Linked DNA regions of Homo sapiens: region 2 is linked to region 1. Evidence: promoter capture Hi-C in 16 types of primary human blood cells and fetal thymus (Javierre and others, 2016). All regions are on one chromosome and are shown on one strand. Each heading gives the region's core, a stretch centred on a gene start or on the middle of the fragment in contact. The rest is flanking DNA. Distances are from core to core; before and after follow the strand shown.

Region 1 (3,332 bases), core at 150-2,649:
TATAACATATAACATATATAATATATAAATATATAACATATATAATATATAATATATAAATATATAACATATATAATATATAATATATAAATATATAACATATATAATATATAATATATAAATATATAACATATATAATATATAATATATAAATATATAACATATATAATATATAAATGTATAACATATATAATATATAAATATATAACATATAACATATATATCTAAATATATAACATATATAATATATAATATCTAAATATATAACATATATAATATATAATATCTAAATATATGACATATATAATATATAATATCTAAATATATAACATATATAATATATAATATATAAATATATGACATATATAATATATCTAAATATATAACATATATAATATATAATATCTAAATATATAACATATATAATATATAATATCTAAATATATAACATATAATATATAATATCTAAATATATAACATATATAATATATAATTTATATATAATTATAATATATGCAATATCTATATAAAATATATATATTTTTGAGACATAGTTTCGCTCTTGTTGCCCAGGCTGGAGTGCAGTGGCATGATATCGGCTCACTGCAACCTCTGCCTCCCGGGTTCAAGCGATTCTCCTGCCTCAGCCTCCCGAGTACCTGGGATTACAGGCATGCGCCGCCACGCCAGGCTAATTTTTTTGTATTTTTACTACAGACGGGGTTTCTCCATGTTGGCCAGGCGGGTCTCGAATTCCCGACCTCAGGTGATCAGCCTGCGTTGACCTCCCAAAGTGCTGGGATTACAGACGTGAACCACTGCGCCCGGCCTGGAGATTATATTTTAAAGTTATTTTGAATACTCCCTGGAAAAGTTCTTGGTTCATACTTATACCCGTAAGTCAAAAGATTTGTCAAATATTCAAGAACAATCAAACAATCACTTAAAAATACTGTATAAAAGTTTCTATTTCGGCATACTTTACTTTTACTTAACTAAAATTTCAAATAAAATGTATCCACTTTTATGATCTCAACAAGATCGGTCATTCCTATAGCGGAGTTGAAAACTTTCAACTTATTCACAATTATCAAAAGAATGGAGCAGCCCCCACAGAGACTTCCAGCAATGAGTTGTAAAATGCAGTCTGCATTAAGTAGCTTCCTTACAATCATCCCGATGGTAAAAGTGTCAAATTTCGCAAACGCCTGGACAAGGAAGTGAAATGATCATCTAATAACGCAGTTGACTCATCTGTCAAATAAGCGAGTGGGCCAGGGTCCCTGAGCTCACTACCCTCAGATTCTAACTCCAGCTTCACATCATTAGGCGTAAGCAGCCAATTGGGCCGTCTGGGAGCCGTGCATCCTGGGAGTTATAGTTTCCGGCTCCCTCCTTCAGATTACAAGCTCCACAGAGCCGCGGGAGGACGGTTGCCTGGTATTATTAGCAAGCAGCAAATATGGCGGTGGCGCGCGTGGACGCGGCTTTGCCTCCCGGAGAAGGTAAGGCGATCCCTACCCCGAGTCCTAAGGTTTACTTCACGGAGCTGAATTAAATAGTGGAGAGCAGAAAACCTAGGTTTAGATGTGCAGTTCTGGACCAGTTCTTTTGATGCGGATCTGTGGTCGTCGCGGAGGCGGGCTACCCTCTGGGAGTTGTAGTTCACCTGCCGTTCCCAGCTCTCCGGCGTCGCGGTGAGGGCCGAGCGGGGGACTACAGCCCCCAGAAGCCTTCGCGCGGCCCGGCGCCCTGGCTCCCGCGCTCCCGATGCTGAGGAGGCGGTGGATTTCGGGCTGCGATGACCTTTCTTGACCATTTACTTTGAGTCATGGGTGCCTAAGCGAAATGTTTGGGATCTCCCTCTTTCGCTTCACACATCTCCCTCTCTTCTTGGTTCCTGGAACCATCAGGAAAACCTTCCCTCAGAGACCGCTGCCTAGTCTGGCTTTGAACCCTTCCTCGGAGGTGGCCAGTGGCCGTGATAAAATCTAAGGGATGATCCAGAGCCCGCAGTTCTGTACTCCTTGTTCTTGCACACGGGTCCTAGGATCGAGTTTGGTCGCTGCCCAGTAGAGCACAGGACTGTGTGGGTGCTTCTGTGGCCTGAAGATACCTACCTCTTTGGGGCGCCGGACGCGAGCTGCTTTTGTTTTGGTTACAGCTCCGAGGCTTGGCAGCAGTCAGTCCTCTAAATCGGGGACAGGGCCCAGGGGTCGAGGCCCGTCTTCATGGCTTAGACCAGGAGTGCATTTTCTGGGAGCTGTAAATTCTTGGGGGAAGAGTTGGTGGATGGTTCTCAGACCTCTCTGTCGACCCCTTGGAATTGTGTACAAAGGCTGTGCACTTTTCTGAGACAGCACACCCCTTTCATCAATTTTTCAGAGGGGCTCACGACTCCTCACATGCTAAGAGCCATTAGACAACGGGAAAACGTTGAAATCCTCCAGGAGAGCAATCTGGCATAATTATTTCCTGCAGTAGTCCTAATCTGGGTGTAAATTTGAAATTGGCCGTTTCTCTGGCCCCGCCCTCTTTGGAGATCGGCTTTTCTTAAACCACACCTCTCAAGCCCACCAGGGCTACTTAACTGTTAATAGCAGTTAACATTTACAGAGCACTTTGTATGACCCAGGCGATGTTCTCAGTCCTTTTTTTTTTTGTTTTTTTTTTTACATTATCTCATTTTCTCTGTAGAACTACATTTATAAGGCAGGTATTATCCCCACTTTACAGAGTAGAAAAGGGAGCCCAAAAGAAATCAATAATTTGCCTAATATACCACAATGGTTAATTGGTGGAGCCAGGGTTTGAACGTCTATGTTATACTAAAGTGCCTTATTGAGTGCCCGGTGGCAGGAACGGGGCTAAGTACTATTCATATGGTTTCTCTTTTAATTCTCATATCAAGCTAGGGAAATGGGTGTATTATCCTATTTTATGGGAGAATTAGTTGAACTATACTTTGATTTTCAAAATCACAGTTTGGGCACTTTAGGATATATTGGTAGTTAGGCTGTAAGCTGGTGGATTGCAGTCAAAAGTTTAGTAACATTTAAACAATAGTATCATTACTTAGGCACAACAAATGGAAGTAATCGTCCATATTTAAATGTGAAAATTTTCAAAGTATATCTTAGCAACTTGAGGAGAATATCACACGTCTAGTTTTAATTTGATATTTCTGAAGAAAAATGAGTAATTCAATCTGGTCATTTAGAACTCAAGATTGCTTTAATTTTACAATGTTGATATTTATTATGCTCTACTGTTCTTTAACTTGAAATGGTATAGAGATTTTATAATTCCAGCCCTATGCTTAGCTGTTGTAC
Region 2 (3,686 bases), core at 77-2,576, 510 kb after region 1:
TAATACATAAATAGGAATACTTGTAACCATATAGGATTGTTGTGAGGTGTAAATGCTAGAATGTGCACAAAAGGACAGAAAGTGTATAAAGCAGTTAGTACCTGATACACAAGGGACACACTCAATAAATGTTCTATCATTGTTATGAATGAGCCGTTTGGATACTGCATTGAACAATCCATTCGATCCCATTTGTTGAATATGAACTTAGTCTGGTATTTTCAATAGTACCAAGTTAAAATATGGCTTCTTACAAGGCAAAGGCAACCTATAAAATATAAGAGTTGCTTTAATATTGTTCCCTATGGCTTGTGTCTCTTTCAGTAAGGCAACCTATATAAATAAAACATTTTCAGTTTAGAGAAAAGGAGTGGGAGTGGGGTGAGGACAGGGCTTATTTTTCACTCCATAGCTTAACTCTTTGGCTCTGAGATGATCTGATGACTTGGCAGTTGGCAGTTAGCTGATGGCATCAGCTTTTTAGAAGCCAGAGCAAGACAACATTTCAAAGAAGATAGGAGAGTAGTAGTTGGCTCTGGCTATAAAATTCAGTTTTTAACTTTGGTTTCTGATCGCCTACAATGACCATAGTCCCCTTTTCCCTCTTTGCTCCCAAACAAAGCAGAGATGGAAGTTCTGTAGGGTTCAGGGACTAGTTAATTCTTCATGTCGGCTCAATGCATTTTGGAAGAGGATCTGAGAAATAGCCACCTTATGTGACCTCCTGAATAAAACTTACTCATATAGGGTAAGTAAGGAAATGCGTAAGTAAGGAAATCTAGTAGATTTAAGGCATTGCCTCAAGTTCTCTCAGATATAAATACATTTGATGCCTTGGCCTGGCGCTCAAGTACTTTACACATGAACAGGGGAAACAGCATATTCTTATGCAACACTATATTTAATGCAATCACCAATGTAAGCTCAATTAGCACAAGGACTCTCTTAATCAATTAATTAATCTGACAAACAAAGTATACACAAGATCTGAAACTGTGTGGTGTGGATTTGATCGAACAAGGTATGAGGTTTGTACTTAAAGATCTTACCGTCTAGTTAGAGGGAGGCAAATAAACAGGTAATTATGATGCAGTCTCTAACAGAAGGTGCTAACTCTGCCTGAGGGAGTCAGGTGAGGCCTTAAATCTGAGTGTGTTGACAGACTTGTGTCTTTGTAAGGTCTACGTGGTTGTTGCAAGCAGATTGCATTGGAAGAATTCTGCTGGTGTTGAAAAGGAAAGGATGAATACTGAAGGCATTTTAAACTTTAGAAGGTAAAGGACGGCTTGCAGGTCTCTGTAACTTACGACGTAGAGAATCAGAGGAGAGGAAAAGTCTATGGTGATTCTAAGGCATAGAACTGACTGGGTGCCCAGTAGAATGGTGGTGTCATGACACAGAAGGAAAACATAATGATGACCAACTAATTTTGGCTTTCAGAGTAGGATAAGTTTACAGTTTACAGGTTAAACTTGAGATGTAATTTCTAAGTGTATATTAAGTAATTTATAGCTAAAGCTGTTGGGAATTTTTTACTGGGCCTTTACTCTCTGTATCCACTAACAATAGCTAACATGTTGAAATATATAAAATTAAAGTGTATTTTGTATAAACTTGGGAAGGATTATCAGAATATATTAGAAATATATTATCAGAATATGTTATGTCAGAATATGTTAAATTAAAGGTATTTGCTACTGATATTAATAGAGATGTAAATTAAGGGGATGTGGAAATGCTAATGAATGAGTAAAGTGAGAAAAGTTAAACTAAAAAATTAAAGTAATTCTCTCTCAGAAGTCCTTTGTGACAAAAATAATCAATTTCCCCAAATTCTCTTACCTTTACTTCTTGAAAGTCTTTCAAATCTGTCTCCTTGTCTTCAACCATATTTCCATTGGTTTAGCTAAAGCCTTCCCTCCCCATTCTGGGTTAATAAGAATCTATTAAGTTTCCATCTCGCTTCCAGTCTCATTACCCCCGTCCACTTTCCACACTGTTATTTGAATGATCATTAGAAAGGACACATTATTATATTACACCCTTTGTATAAATGCATCCACTGGCTCTCTCTCTTCTCTAGCATCTTAGCGCTCTCTTAGATTCCGATATTTTTACTTTTCACCCCACATAATTGTACACACACGGACTTTCCATATTAAGGTCTGTACTTTTTGAGTCTAGGGACAATGTCTTATTCATTTCTGCATTTCCTAGGTCTAGAACCATATCCTTCTCTTATTATATTCTTGATAAGTGTGGGTTTATTATGGGCTGAATTTGGCTCCTTGAATTCATATGGTGAAGCCCTAATCCCAATGTATGTGGAGATGGGACCCTTAAGAAGGTAATTAAGGTTAAATGAGGTCATAAACTTGAGGTCCTAATTCAATAGGACTGGTGTTCTCACAAGAAGTGGCAGAGACACCAGAAGTAGTGCCTGTGCCAAAAGGAAAGACCATGTGAACACACAGAGAAGGTGCTGTCTGCAAGACGAGAGGCCTCATCATATATGAACAATGTTGGTACCTTGCTCTTGGACTTCCAGAACTGTGAGAAGATAAATTTCTGTTGTTTAAGCCACTCAGTCTGTGGCACTTTGTTAAAGCAGCCCAGCCAGACTAATACAGGGTTGAATTGGGCAGATGTGATGGATCATGTCTAGTACATATTTGCCATGAGAGGTCAATATCAATCTCTCTAGGTTTCTTGGCATTGCAGGTCATCTCTAAGTTCATGTGACAAAAATAGATCAGTAAGAAATTGTTCTTAGCTGAGGACTCAAGGCTGATATTAGGTTTGTTTGAATACTAATAAACAGTCAAGTATTTTTTAAAGAAATGCACTCTAAGAGGGGCTTTTGAAATTTTTCCTGCACAAACTCCTGGGATGTGAAGATGACCTAAGGAAAGTTGATGCTGTTAGGGGAAAGAGCAAAAGAAGAATTACTGGGAATCCAAGAGTATGTCCATATATGTCAGGACCCATAGGGTTTTATAGGCTCATGAATCAAGCGTGTGGCATCCTGATTTTGATTTAAGATTATCCACTGGGGAGCAGATTTTCTTTGAACTTTGCTTAAGCCTTCATGAACAAAGAGATCCTTCAGATATGCACTGTGAACTTCCTGATATAGTAACATGGGTCTCTTGGGGATGGTTGTTTCACATAATTTACCACATGCACAGACTGGACACACACCACTGCTCACTGTAGCCCAAACAGTATTTAGAGAGGTGCTGCTAGCAATCTGGCCTTCTGCTTTCAGCTTGGTGGCTGCTCCAAAGTTATTCAGAGAGTTAAGATGGAAAGAAAACCAGAGAATTACAAAGAAAAAAACAAGGATAAGGGGCTTCATTAAGCTACCTCACAAATGATGAATCCCCAAACCAAAAATTAGTAGGAAGTATCAAAGCCGAGTCTTACCTTCACAGTTGCCATAACTTTTTAACTTCTGCTGTGCATTTCTTTATCTGATTTATTTCATCAACTTGGTCAAATTGTGCGTCTGTGTGTGTGTGTGAGAGAGAGAGAGTTGGAGCTCTCTTCTATAATGATGTTTGTGATGTTACTCTCTTTTATTATGAGCATAATGCTTATTTGCATGATTTATCATTTTCAGTATGCTTTCTCAGCTTCTCTATTATTTGCTTCATACATTGGCCACATTAGGTTACTGCAAGGAC

The links. Contacts are between HindIII fragments. The CHiCAGO score rates a contact against its expected background, and 5 or more counts as called.
Region 2: a contact is called between a fragment that was not itself captured here and the fragment with the promoter of CEP97 in region 1, in 3 of 17 cell types (activated CD4 T cells, non-activated CD4 T cells and monocytes). The highest score is 7.6, in activated CD4 T cells.

What each region holds. Positions count from the first base shown.
Region 1 is chr3:101,723,215-101,726,546 of GRCh38, forward strand. It overlaps CEP97 (centrosomal protein 97), which reads left to right and starts at 1,400. Exons shown (of 11, transcript NM_024548.4): 1 at 1,400-1,505. The coding sequence starts at 1,463. RefSeq lists enhancers at 1,376-1,745, 2,026-2,095, 2,267-2,878. The HindIII fragment of the contact is 6,095 bases long and covers 1-3,332 here.
Region 2 is chr3:102,230,966-102,234,651 of GRCh38, forward strand. No RefSeq gene overlaps it. Among named protein-coding and RNA genes, the nearest start is that of ZPLD1, 200 kb to the right of the region's middle. RefSeq lists an enhancer at 3,237-3,316. The HindIII fragment of the contact is 6,217 bases long and covers 1-3,686 here.